Linked DNA regions of Homo sapiens: all the other regions are linked to region 1. The links are contacts of gene promoters, found by promoter capture Hi-C in blood cells and fetal thymus (Javierre and others, 2016). All regions are on one chromosome and are shown on one strand. The core of a region is centred on a gene start or on the middle of the fragment in contact, and the rest is flanking DNA. Distances in the headings are between cores, read along the strand shown. Region 1 holds the start of CBX1 (chromobox 1). Region 2 holds the start of LINC03057 (long intergenic non-protein coding RNA 3057). Region 3 holds the start of UBE2Z (ubiquitin conjugating enzyme E2 Z).

Evidence for each region. The method cuts DNA at HindIII sites, captures the fragments that hold promoters and counts their contacts. A CHiCAGO score of 5 or more calls a contact.
Region 2: a fragment that was not itself captured here is called in contact with the fragment with the promoter of CBX1 in region 1 in 2 of 17 cell types (total CD8 T cells and megakaryocytes); the score reaches 5.5 in total CD8 T cells.
Region 3: a contact is called between the fragment with the promoter of UBE2Z here and the fragment with the promoter of CBX1 in region 1, in 1 of 17 cell types (M2 macrophages). The highest score is 5.8, in M2 macrophages.

Annotation. Positions count from the first base shown.
Region 1 is chr17:48,098,249-48,102,873 of GRCh38, forward strand. CBX1 (chromobox 1) reads right to left here and starts at 3,230. Exons shown (of 5, transcript NM_001127228.2): 1 at 3,020-3,230. RefSeq lists enhancers at 2,963-3,562, 3,389-3,648 and a silencer at 2,969-3,018. The HindIII fragment of the contact is 8,551 bases long and covers 1,264-4,625 here.
Region 2 is chr17:48,645,970-48,650,158 of GRCh38, forward strand. LINC03057 (long intergenic non-protein coding RNA 3057) reads right to left here and starts at 883. Exons shown (of 2, transcript NR_186590.1): 1 at 636-883. LINC02086 (long intergenic non-protein coding RNA 2086) reads left to right here. Exons shown (of 8, transcript NR_189645.1): 1 at 1-393. RefSeq lists enhancers at 420-1,088, 527-576, 1,467-1,676 and a silencer at 797-976. The HindIII fragment of the contact is 5,086 bases long and covers 1-3,898 here.
Region 3 is chr17:48,906,620-48,911,263 of GRCh38, forward strand. UBE2Z (ubiquitin conjugating enzyme E2 Z) reads left to right here and starts at 1,788. Exons shown (of 7, transcript NM_023079.5): 1 at 1,788-2,201; 2 at 4,189-4,261. The coding sequence starts at 1,885. LOC105371814 (a long non-coding RNA gene) reads right to left here and starts at 2,364. Exons shown (of 4, transcript NR_135674.1): 1 at 2,320-2,364. RefSeq lists silencers at 1,927-2,176, 2,447-2,576 and enhancers at 3,450-3,499, 3,520-3,569. The HindIII fragment of the contact is 3,469 bases long and covers 1,216-4,644 here.

The DNA.
Region 1 (4,625 bases), core at 1,980-4,479:
TAAAAAAACAAAAAACAAACAAACAAACAAACAAAAAGAAACTAACTGAGGCTAAGACAAACATGGCAAAGCAACAGCTTAACTCTGCCAAATGTCACAGACACAGGACAAGCAAACTACTATGCACATTAATTTGGCTGAGTTCTCAGAATGGATCTCAAAGCTCCCCTATTCATCATTCATTCATCAACAATCTGAACGGCCTACTATGTGCCAGGCACTAATGAACAAGAGGTGCGTCCCCATTTTTTCATTTTTCTTTTTTTGAGACAGAGTTTCGCTCTTGTTGCCCAGGCTGGAGTGCAATAGCGCGATCTCGGCTCATGGCAACCTCTGCCTCCCGGGTTCAAACGATTCTCCTGCCTCAGCCTCCCAAGTAGCTGGGATTACAGGTGTGCACCACCACGCCCAGCTAATTTTGTATTTTTAGTAGAGATGGGGCCAGTATGGCTCCATTTTATGGGAGCCCATAAACTAGCAATTAGCCTTCTACACCAGAAACTCTTCGTGGAAAGAACCTATGAAGTGAAAATCTACCAAATCTAATGCAAAATCTCTTACACCACTGCAGATAGGATTTTTTTTTAAAAAAGGGAGGTTTTGCTAGATAAACCACTAGAGGATGCCAAAATTTAATGAATTATTTTCAAATGGTGTGAACAACAAAGAGAAACATTTTCCTAGTCCTTAAAATGGGCACAAGAATGAGTGCTATCTTTCTTTAGAGGTATAGTTTGTAAGTTATAGGTATCCTGTATTCAGAAATGCAGAAGACCAGGGTAACTTACTTACCACTAGGCTTCTATTTACATTCAAAACTATTTATTTCACACACCATCTATCTACCTATCATCTATCTTTTCTTTTTTTTGAGACAGAGTCTCGCTCTGTTGCCCGGGCTGGAGTGCAGTGGTGCAGATCTCGGCTCACTGCAACCTCTGCCTCCCGGGTTCAAGCGATTCTCCTGCCTCAGCCTCCCGAGTAGCTGGGACTACAGGCATGCGCCACTAGGCCCAGCTAATTTTGTATTTTTAGTAGAGACAGGGTTTCACCATGTTGGTTGGCCAGGATGGTCTCGATCTCTTGACCTCATGATCCGCCCACCTCAGACTCCCAAAGTGCTGGGATGACAGGCTTGAGCCACTGCGCCCGACCCTACTATTTATTTTTTTAATGAGAAACAATTTAGGATACAGCAGCCATTGAAGAAAAATATCACCACAGGGAAAACCGTAAACGACTTCAGGTCCTCCACTCCCGTGAAGCTTCATTAAGGTGCCACCGGTTTCAATACAAGTGCTTTTCAATCACACCACTTTCATATAAAAGTCTATAAGGCACCTAGGGAGGAACACCGGCATTAATTTCCCCATTGTATTCCTGAATCTATTCCAAAGCCTTGGACCTTTCACAATCTTTCCAAACTGCTGATGTGACTCTTAACACAATTGAGGAGGCTACTTTACCCTGGGCTAGGGGTTCTAGTATATAACTGATTATAGCTGAACTTTTTGTAAATTCCACCTCAATTGCGTTAAACCAACACGTCTAAATGTAACACCAATTTATGAAAAACCCTCATTTGAAACTTTGAAAAAGAGGTAAAATATGGCCAGGCGCAGTGGCTCACGCCTATAATCCCAGCACTTTGGGAGGCCGACGCGGGAGGATCACGAGGTCAGGAGTTCGAGACCAGCGTGACCAGTACGGTGAAACCCCGTCTCTACTAAAAATACAAAAATTAGCCGGGCGTGGTGGCGTGTGCCTGTAATCCCAGCTAGTCGGGAGGCTGAGGCAAGAGAATCGCATGAATCCGGGAGGTGGAGGTTGCAGTGAGCCAAGATCGCACCACTGCACTCCAGCCTGGGCAACAGAGGAAGACTCTTCTCAAAAAAAAAAAAAAAAAGAGGTAAAATATAGCTCACTCTATTCAAATTTTCCAACAAGGAAAAGCTGGCTAAAAACAGAAGGGCCCACGAAACAAATATTACCTCACAATCTCACATAATTTTCCTATGTCTCCCAATTTCTCGCACCTCACACGATCTCACAATCTCTCACTACCTCACGCCGTTCCTCAACTATTAACTCATCTACATATTTTTACAATTTCATCACCTTTGTGAGACCAGTTACGATCCCACACAAAAACGTACGGAACTAATTTTGAATCAAAGCAAGAACTGCACTTGGACTTTTTTAACTCCCCAAAGGAATCATGGAGTGAAGGTAGTAGGAAACCTGGAAAACTGAAAAAAGCGTATTCCATCCTTTCTTCGCACATTATTCTTACAGCCTCCCCACTGTAAGGACCCATCAGGATGCAAGGGCGGCCTGCTTTCCCCTTTTTTCTTACATACCTTATAGAAATATTCTCGGGATCTCCGCCCTACTTATCCTAACAGCTCCTCCCCTTCCAGAGTCAGGCCCAGCAAACGCCTGCCCCTCCCCCTCCGTGTCCCCTTTCCCAATTTATTCCACACATCTCCTCCTCCAATCAGCACACCTTGTGCGGCCCTGGGCCCTCTTCCAATTCACTCGACGTTACTCCTCCGTAGTCCTGCAAAGCCAGGTTCCTCTGGCAGTCCCAGCCGGACCCGGCGTCTTCCGAATACAGTTACAAACCTCGGGTTGTGCGGTCGTATGCGCCTCCTCACGCCTATCCAAGCCTCAAGCCTGTCCCCTTCCGCCCTATCCCGCAGCCGCCCAGCCAAGCAACATTGTTCCAGACCACCCGGGCCCCGAAGAGCGGCCCCCAAGTGCTCGGCCCACCCCCAAGCACTCAGTCTCTGGCTCAGGATTCGCGCCCCGCCCTCTCCATCCTTCACGCAGCTGGCACCGACGCCTCAGCGACAGGCGAAGAGCTCAGCGCGGGAAGCGGAGAAGCAGGACGCTGGACCCGGGCGCGCTCCCCGCTCCTAACCTCCGCCTCGAAAGCGCGTTCCCTCACGCAGGGCTCCCGCCGCCGCCGCCGCCGCGCCCCCTCCCCCAGCTCTCCCGCCTCCAGCGGGCTCCTCACCTCAGAGCAGCGCCCAAGAGCCCGAGAGGAATCGGTGCTGCGCTGCTGGCGCGTCGCGTCGGGTCGCCTGGGGGAGTGGCGCCCAGGAAGGCAGCAAGCCGGGTGGCCGCAGTGGCGTCCCTCACTGAAGCGGCGTACCGCAGGCCCCGGCCAACGGCCCTCCCCTCAGCCGAACAAAAGAGCCTCGCAGTCTGCGCTGCCCGCCGCTCGCACCGCGCAGGCGCAACGACCCGCCGCACGGCACCATGGGCCTCGGGGGTCTGTCCAAGACTACAAGGCCCGAAGCGCCGCGCGCCGCGCACGCACAGTAGGCGAGGGTGGTAGGGACTTATAGTTTTTAAACTGTAACGGTGGAGAGATTGCAGCGTAGAGCGTTGTAACCTAGAATATTAGAACATATGGGCCAGGGGCAGTCGCTCACGCCTGTCATCCCAGCACTTTGGGAGGCCGAGGCGGGTGGATCACCTGAGGTCAGGGGTTCGAGACCAGTCTTACCAACAAGGTGAAACCCTGTCTCTACTAAAAATGCAAAAATTAGCCGAGCGTGGTGGCAGGTGCCTGTAGTCCCAGCTACTCAGGAGGCTGAGACAAGAATTGCTTGAACTTGGGAGGCGGAGCTTGCAGTGAGCCGAGATCCAGCCACTGCGATCCAGCCTGGGCGATGGAGCGAGACTCCATCTCAAAAAAAAAAAAAAAAAAAAATTAGAACATATGATTTTTATAAGCGAGCCCCCTGATGCTTGGCCCCCAAAAAATCAACCACTTCTGGACAGTTCTGTAATTCACATCCTCAAAATTTTTGAATCTTAGATTCTTCACCAGAACTTTATCATATCGCCGCTGCCTCAAATTTCCAATGATTTCTTAGTCCTCAATCTCTGCCTCCTCAAATCTCTGTAAAATTCCTACTCACGCCGGCACGGTGGCTCAAGCCTATAATCCCAACACTTGGGGAGGCGGAGGTGGGTGGATCACTTGAGGTCAGGGTTTCAAGACCAGCCTGGCCAACATGGTGAAACCCCATCTCTACTAAAATACAAAAATTAGCTGGGCGTCGTGGCGGGCGCCTGTAGTGCCAGCTACTCGGGAGGCTGAGGGAGGAGAATCGCTTGAACCCAGGAGGTGGAGGTTACAGTGAGCCGAGATCGCGCCATTGCACTCCAGCCTGGGCAACAAGAGCGAAACTTCGTCTAAAAAAAAAAATACTGTTCAGTGTTAAGATTACTTCCCCTTTGAGGTCTTCCCTGATTCCCTAGAGTAGGTTAGGTCCCCCCATAGGCCTCTCATAGCTTCCTGAATTTCCCCCTTTTCACTGGCTGCGCCACAAAAATGTCCTCTTTTTCATTGTAAGTTGTGCTCACCTTTTTCAGTGTCATTAATCTCCGTCAGCACCTTTCACCCAATCATCCCAAGGAAACACACAATTAGGAAAAAAACATGTTTTTAAGCCACAATATAACTAAAGTTTTATTTTTTTATTTTAAAGTATCCTTCTAATCAGGAGGAAGAGGGAAACTCTATTGCACTCTACCCCAAAAGGCAAGAGTTTGCATTTATAAGACAGTTTTGCTGATGCAGGCACTGTTCAGGGCAGGAGTTTGCATTT
Region 2 (4,189 bases), core at 106-2,605, 550 kb after region 1:
CCCAAAAGCCAAAGCAAGAGACTCCCCCAAGTATTCTGCCCCCTCCACGCCAGGAGGCAGCTAGAGAGACAGCGCGCGGGAGAGCTGATTCTGCACCTTGGGGAGCTGGGGGCTTCTGTCTAGACCAAGAGTTCCAGGCCAATTCCTAATTTCCGTTAGGAAAAGTGGCCCTTCTTCCATCCCAAGCGATTCCTCACCCCCAAGGCTGCTCAGGGCGTCTGGCCCTTGCCTCTCTCACGGCATCCGCCTGGAATCCGGGGTTGTGAGCAGGAGGCCCAGGACGCAGGGCCTCAGGCTGGGCGGGGCACTGAGCACTCGGCTCTGGGGAGCCAGGGTTTCCGGTAGAACGAGGGGAGGCGACCCCCTTTCCCCACACACACACCTGTTGGAGAGGTAGGGTCGGGTGCCAGCGGACAGGGAGGCCAAGGCGTTTTCGGGTGCGCCCCGAGGCCCTACCCGGGAAGCTGCCTCGGTCTGGAGATCAAGGTTAAGCCGGTGGCCCCGGGAAGCCCACGCCTGCCACGGGCGGTTGGTCCTGAAAGCTCGGGCCACGGGGCTGCCCAGCTTGGAGAGGGGCCTTTCACGCCGCAGTCCCCAGCTGCGAGAGGAAGGGCTGCGCCCGCCTCCTCACCTACCTCTCGGAACCACGCCGTCCCCCGCGCGTCTTCGTAGACTGCAGGAGTCCAGGGCGTCTGGGGACTGTGACGGCGCCCAAGGCGGGGGATGTGGCGGCTCTGGGTCGCCGCCTTCTGCCCCCGCCTCTGTGAGGCCTCTCGAGGCAGTGTCTGTGTCTGGGGCAGCGACGCCGACGGCGCTGGGGGCGCGAAGGGGCTCACGCTCCTGCGTTCCCCTGGCGCCGGTGAGTGGCGGGCGAGGACAGGGTCCGGGAGGGGGATAGGCGAGAGCGCTTCCTGCCTCCGCCCGGGCGGGGCTCGGCCGTCTCACCTGCCCCCACCCACGGCGCCGTCGGATCCCAGAGCGGCTGGTGAGGAGATGGGCCTGGCGCGCCGCGGGGAGGCCAGAGGCGCGGAGGAGCAGCGCCCAGATGGCCGGAGAGAGCAGAGAGAGAGAGAAGAGAGAGAGAAGAGAGAGAGAGAGAGAAGAGAGAGAGAGGGAGAGAGGCAGAGAGGGAGAGAGGGAGGGAGAGAGGGAGGGAGGGAGGGAGGGAGAGAGAGAGAGAGAGAGAGAGAGAGAGAGAGAATATGAGAATATGAGAATATAAAAGGCAAGAGAGAAGCAGATCCAAGGGCGCGCCCAGAGAAACATCAAATGCACAAATAGACAAAAGAGGTAGAGGAGAAAGCTGAGTCCCAGGGGCTGAAAGAAGCCATGGGCGTCTGAAGCGAGCGACAAGTTATCCTTGGGAGTTGGAAATGTGAGAGGGAGGGGCGAGGCCGAAGGAGGCTGAGAAGGGGAGGGGGCGCTCACACCCTGGGCGGGAGGCGACTGATCCACACTTAGGGCTCCGAATCCGGAGAAAGAGAGCGCCGGACCCTCCTCCGCCCACCTCCCGCCCCAGCCGCAGCCCAGCGACTTCCCGCCATCCTCGGCCACCGAGCGGCTCCTGCCTGGGGTTGTTCGACCGGGATGGCTGCACCAGGCTGAAGGTTGTCCCTCTACCTGCCTCCTTTCTTCTGTTCCCTGTGCCTTACATGGGTTCCTCCCTATTCTATGAACCCAGAGGGAACGACCTTGGCCAAGGTTAGAGAAGGAGCTTGAAAGTTTCACTTTCCATCTTAGCCCTCAGGACGCCTTTGCGTTTTGGCCCTTCGTTAGCGTGCTATCCTGGAATTGCAGGCTCTTCTCTTTATTTCTGAGACCCAAATAGAGGTTTAACCTCCTTAAAATCAGTGAAACTACGACAAACAGTGGCATTCCTGGCTGTCTGGTCTCTAAGGAGTGCCCCCCCTCCCTGACCTCAGCCCTGAGACCCTGCTTCCTCCTCAACCTGCATGGGACTGGGGACACCCCCTCACAATCCAGTCCCTTCCTGCAGGTGGTTGTCCAGGGGGCATGTAGAGGTGTGCCTGAGCTCTGTGTCCTAAGCCTGGCTCTGCCACTGACTTCAGCCCCCACCCCTTCTCCTTTTAGGCCTCAGTTTTTCCTCTGTAAAATGGGCAGAGTGATTTTACAAGTGATTTTACCAAGTGAGAACTGTTGAAATATCTTACTATAATTGTGGATTTGTCCATTTCTCCTTTCAATTCTATCATTTTCGGTGCTTCATATATTTTTGAAGCTCTGTTATTAGGTGTGTACATTTAAGGTTGATGTGTCTTCCTAGGTGTGTACCACATTTAGATTTAGGATTGATGTGTCTTCTTTTTTGAGATGAAGTCTTGATCTGTCACCCAGGCTGGAGTGCAATGGTGCAATCTCGGCTCACTGCAACCTCCGCCTCTTGAGTTCAAGCGATTCTCCCACTTCAGCCTCCCGAGTAGCTGGGACCACAGGTGTGTGCCACCACGCCCAGCTAATTTGTGTAGTTTTAGTAGAGACGGGTTTTCACCATGTTGGCCAGGCTGGTCTCGGCTCCTGACGTCAGGTGATCCGCTTGCCTCAGCCTCCCAAAGTGCTGGGATTAGAGGTGTGAGCCACGGCTCCTAGCCATGATATGTCTTCTTATGCTTTGCTTCTGCAGCCTCCTCTCATTTGCAGGTTCTGTTGAGCTTGAACCGCTGAGAGAAAAATGCATCCAAATGGGAATTTTATTCTATATCCACGTAAACATGAATATAGAAATATGACAAAACTAAATTTTGCTTCCAAAATGTTTTTGTTTTGTTTTGTTTTTGTTTTTTTGTTTGTTTGTTTTTTCTGAGACAGAGTTTCGCTCTTGTTGCCCAGGCTGGAGTGCAATGGCACAATCCCAGCTCACCGCAACCTCTGCCTCCCGGGTTCTCCTGCCTCAGCCTCCCTAGTAGCTGGGATTACAGGCATGTGCCACCATGCGCAGCTAATTTTTTGTATTTTTAATAGAGACGGGGTTTCTCCATGTTGGTCAGGCTGGTCTCGAACTCCCGACCTCAGGTGATCCGCCCGCCTCAGCCTCCCAAAGTGCTGAGATTACAGGCATGAGCCACTGCACCCGGCCAACGCCCAGCTAATTTTGTATTTTTAGTAGAGATGGGGTTTCTCCAGTTCGTCAGGCTGGTCTCGAACTCCCTACCTCAGGTCATCCGCCCGCCTCAGCCTCCCAAAGTGCTGGGATTACAGGCGTGAGCCACCATGCCCGGCCCCAGAATTTTTTCTATTTGGGTCTATTTTTCTACTTTTTCTTCACTTTTTGTTGATATATAGTATTATAGAACCTAATATTAAACCTCTGGCTCAATATATTTTTGCATAGATCCCATCTGTGTAACCACCACCTAGATCAAGATGTTTCCGGCTTACCAGAAGGCCCCATTGTAACTCCTACCAATCAATAGCTCTCTGGTCAATCCCTCCATACCCCCTAACAATTATTTGGCTTTCTATCACCATAGATTAGTTTTGTCTAATCCTTCAACTTCATATAAACATAAGTATGTATTCTTTTGTCTGGCTTCATCTGCTCAGTATTACTTGTGTGGGACTCATCCATGGTGTTGTATATGGCAGCAGTTCATTCATTTTATCATTGTGTCATATTAGTTGTATGAATATATTACAATGTATTTAACCTGTTTGGCTCTTGGTGGACTTAAGGGTTATTTTCAGTTTGGAGCTATAATGAAAAAGCTGTTATGAACATTACATCTGTGTCTTTTGATGGATGCCTGGACTTGGAGACCCAGGAGTGGAAATGCTGGATAACAGAGTAGGAAAATGTTTGTTTGTTAAATAATGACAGTTTTCCAAAGTGGTTGACCAGTTTACACTCCCACTAGTAATGTGTGAGATCCATAGAGAAGTAAGCTTTACAAAAAAAAAAAATGACAGAGAGGACTCAGGATCCAGTTACTGCATATCCCTACCAACACCTGACACTGTCTCTCTTCATTCTGGTGGGTTTGTGGTAATCTTGCAATGAGGTTTTTTGCTTGTTTGCTTTTCGGAGTTGTTTTTTTTTTTTTTTTTTGTACATTTAAAAAATTGTGGTAAAAACATATAATAAATTTTACCATCTTAACCTTGTTTAAGTGTACAATTCAGTATGTTAAGCACATTCACACTGTTGTGCCACAGATCTCTAGAATATTTCCAT
Region 3 (4,644 bases), core at 538-3,037, 810 kb after region 1:
ATTCTTCTGTCTCAGCCTCCTGAGTAGTTGGGACTACAGGCGCCTGCCAACACACCCGGCTAATTTTTGTATTTTTAGTAGAGACGGGGTTTCACCATATTGGTCAAGCTGGTCTCGAACTCCTTACCTCAGGTGATCCACCCACCTCGGCCTCCCAAATTGTTGGGATTACAGACGTGAGCCACCGTGCCCGGCCCAGACTTCTTTTTTAAAAAACCAAACTTGGTGGCAAAACATCCAAAGTGAGGCTATTCATTTGACTTGGTACGAATGTTCATACACTTTGATGCAGAAATGTCAATAGGTTTGGCTACCCGGCGCTGCCCCACTCCTTGCTTGGTGTGTCATTCCAAAGTCTGAAATACATCTGGCCCCACTGGTTTCCAGTTAATATTGATCCTATATTTTTGCTAGGGAAAAAAGTTTTTGTTTTTGTTTTGAGACGGAGTCTTGCTCTGTCGCCCAGGCTGGAGTGCAGTGGCACGATCTCCGCCCACTGCAAGCTCCGCCTCCCGGGTTCACGCCATTCTCCTGCCTCAGCCTTCCGAGTAGCTGGGACTACAGGCGCCCGCCACCACGCCCGGCTAATTTTTTGTATTTTTAGTAGAGACGGGGTTTCACAGTGTTAGCCAGGATGGTCTTGATCTCCTGACCTAGTGATCCGCCCGCCTCAGCCTCCCAAAGTGCTGGGATTACAGGCATGAGCCACCGCGCCCGGCAAGGAAAAACAGTTTTTTAGGAAGGCCCCTGTCATTCTTAGTCCATAGGAATTTTTTTTTTTTTTTTTGAGACGGAGTCTGGCTCTGTCGCCCAGGCTGGAGTGCAGTGGCGTGATCTCAACTCACTGCAAACTCCGCCTCCCGGGTTCAAGTGATCCACCTGCCTAAGCCTCCTGAGTAGCTGGGACTACAGGTGCACGCCACCACGCCCGGCTAATTTTTGTATTTTTAATAGAGGCGGGGTTTCACCATGTTAGGCTGGTCTCGAACTCCTAACCTCGTGATTCGCCCACCTCGGCCTCCCAAAGTGCTGGGATTACAGGCGTGAGCCACCGAGCCTGGCAGATTATTTTTCACTTTAAACATTTTAGGAAAGACCCAAAGAATCCTCAGGGTTTACACTCACAGTACCTCGATTCCTGTATATTCCAAGATTTGTGGGAAGAAAAAGTACTAAGCTTGGAGTCAGGAGGCCTGATGTTTCTTCCTTTCACCAAGCTTCTCTAGTTCTGTTTCATTATCCCCATGGCAACAACTAGCAACAGTGACTGGCATTTAGTAGGCCCTTCATAAATATATGTTGAATAAACTCTAAAAGAGGTAGCTTTTCATTCCAAGTTGAGTTCTCTCTTGGTCCTGTTGCAGGCAAGGGCAATGGTACCCTGCCCTAGGTGCACAAGTGTGCAGGAGGGATCAATCGCAGAGCCTTTCCGAGAGAAGGGGCCCAAAGCGAGTCAACTTCTCTACTGAGCTTCCCATGAGGATGCTGGATCCCCAATCCTAACCATGCAGACGTCTGAGGGTCGCCGCCATTAACGGGAATGATATGGCCCTTCCTCCCCCACTCCCTCCTCTCTTCTCCCCTTTCAACACTTGAATTGGGCTCTCCGCTACTTCCGCACAGCGCAGGACCCACACGAGCCCAGAACCATCACGGCCTGCTAGTTCCCACCCCTCCCGTCCTGGAGGACCGTAGGTGGACGCTCTTGCAGAGCGCCTCTCGCTGGTTGGGGCGGGGGTGGGCGGAGCCAGCACCGTCTGGGCTGTGGAAGCGGAGGGGGTGGGGACACTCTGGCCCGGTTCTCGGTGGTGCGGGAGCGGGCGGGAGCAGCGGCCGCTCTGGTCGGCGGACGTGCTGCCGAGTAGTCCCGGAAGCGAAGCAGCGATGGCGGAGAGTCCGACTGAGGAGGCGGCAACGGCGGGCGCCGGGGCGGCGGGCCCCGGGGCGAGCAGCGTTGCTGGTGTTGTTGGCGTTAGCGGCAGCGGCGGCGGGTTCGGGCCGCCTTTCCTGCCGGATGTGTGGGCGGCGGCGGCGGCAGCGGGCGGGGCCGGGGGCCCGGGGAGCGGCCTGGCTCCGCTGCCCGGGCTCCCGCCCTCAGCCGCTGCCCACGGGGCCGCGCTGCTTAGCCACTGGGACCCCACGCTCAGCTCCGACTGGGACGGCGAGCGCACCGCGCCGCAGTGTCTACTCCGGATCAAGCGGTGAGCCGGGGTTTTTCCTCCCCCAGCCCCGAGCTCCGGGGCTCGACCTTCCCCGCCCCCCACCCTCTCCCACTACAACTCACCCCCCACCCACTGCGCTGCCCTCGCGGCGGCCCACCTCCACGGCCCAAATCTTGCCAGCTCCGGGCGTCGGGATCCAACTCCCTTCTCCCCCCACCCTCAGACCCGCAAGCACCAACCCCCGCCTCGTGTGCCCAGATCCGACCCCGCCCCTCGACAACCTCCCGTGAGCCCTCCGTCTCCATTCCGGCCACCCTCCCCCACACCTCCCACCTCCGGGTGGAAACCCGACCCTTTAGCGCTTCAGTAACGCCCCCTCCCGCCTTCGGCGCCGCCCCTATTTCCCCTTCCCCACCCCAACCTTGCTAGATGCTGCCCGCAGGCCCCACCCATCGGTCCCCTCTCTTCTCCTCTGGAGCCCCGTTCCTAACACAGACGAACTCAGCTTCCTTTGCCATGCCTCTGACTCGAGCCAACCTTTCTTTTTATCCTCCGTTTTTCTCAGATTCCCTCCACACAGTCTTTTCCCAGGTCTAGATCGCTTCCCTCGCCCCAATCTTTCCTTGAACCCCTTTTCCAGTGTCCCAAAGCTGTCCACTCTTACGCCTCTTCCAGAAACACAGGCTACCTCCCCCCAATTCCCCAGTGCCACTCTGGATTGTAATATCCCACTCAGGAGCTTCTTTCTTGTAATTTCCCTCCCCCCACCCCCCACCCTCCCCGGGTCGTCTGTTTTACTTCTATGAAGCAAATATACTCATCAAATATAGGAACAAAGGCCTAAGTCCTTTCTGTGCTTATTTCTTGGGTGACTGATCTTAGATCCTATCATTTAGTAGATGATGTTTTCCAGAAGCACATAGAATAGTACCTATCGCATAAGAAAAGGGCAGTGCTCTTTAGCTATTAATCCTGAAACCTGTTTGACTTCTCCCCATGCCCCCATCACAAGCATCTTCGTTTAGTTCTTATTCCCCATGTTCCACGTCCTTTCAGATGTCTCTGTGTCTACTTTTCAAGGTTGTAATAAAAATTAATATAATGTGTGTAAAGTACCTGGCACAGTGCCTGACACAGGAGGTCAACTGTGGAGGGATTGCCACCTCTAACTGAAACTCAGCACTCAACTCTTTTCCTCCTCCAGCCATTTCAGTCATCCAATTCTGACATACCTTTGAGTTTGGCCAATGCTTTCCTCTGCTTTGTCGCCTATTTGCCCTTTTTATGTCCCTACCCACCCTAGCAAGTCCCTAGGCTTTTCGCCACCTAGAATGTTCTTTAGCCCCTTGCTCTCAACTGATCCATTCCAGTTGGTGAGATATGAGTCAGAAATCTTATCTCCTATGGAAGTCCACATGTCATCTTCCAGATGGGAGATTCTTAGCAATTTCTGAGGATCCCTCCCCAGCCTGAAGAGATCTCTACCCTGAGACACCCCTGGGCAAGAAGGCCACCATGATAGTCTTACTCTCTGCTGGCTGGCTTGCTTCATACAATCCCCTTACCAATAAAGGTCCACTGTATAGTTTATAGAATTAGTTTTTTAGTGGAGTTGATGATGCCTTTCCAGTTACTAAAAAATCTTCATTTAGCATTCAGTCGTAGTACCTGGGAATCATGGAGGTGGGGAGTGAATGAATTGCCATGTGGGAGGAAGTGAGAGTAAGTGGAAAGTGGCTTTTCCAGGCTGACATTTGATGCCATTGGGATCTCTGATTTTTTTCCTCTCTCCCTCCCCTCCCCCTGAGGAAACAATGCCCTTTTGATAATAATTTGCTCTCTGCCTGCCTGACAAGTACTCAGCTGAGATTTCTCAGCCAACAAGACAGTACAAACACTTGCGGTACCAAGCACCACTTTCTCAAACCCTGGCCTCATTGAGGTGATAACAACTGTCCTGCTCAAGGGATTCCCCCTTTCCCCCTCTTCCTCACTCCTTCCCCCACCTCCTCTTGGTGTTATACAGGGATATCATGTCCATTTATAAGGAGCCTCCTCCAGGAATGTTCGTTGTACCTGATACTGTTGACATGACTAAGGTATGTAACTTGATGGGGGTTTGGGGGGTTTTGGGAAATTGGGGGCCATAAGGTTGCAAAAGCCTAAAAGAGATTATTCAGCTCACCTCTCCGATTACACAGATGAAGAAATCAAGACCCCAGGAGAGTAAGTGGCTTGTCCAAGGTCACATAGTGAGGTGGAGCAGCACTTTGAAGAGGTGTCTGTTATTAGTGTACCCCATAGGTACTGATTGGCTTGGAAAATCCCAGTTCATGTCTGTTGTCGCAGCTTGACTATTTATAGGGCATTCTTTCACTCTCAAAAATGCTCCTGTTTGGATAATAAATTATATGGTCACCCTATCCATTGTACTACCCAGCTCTTCCCCCATCCCGTTACTCTTGACATTAACTATGCTATG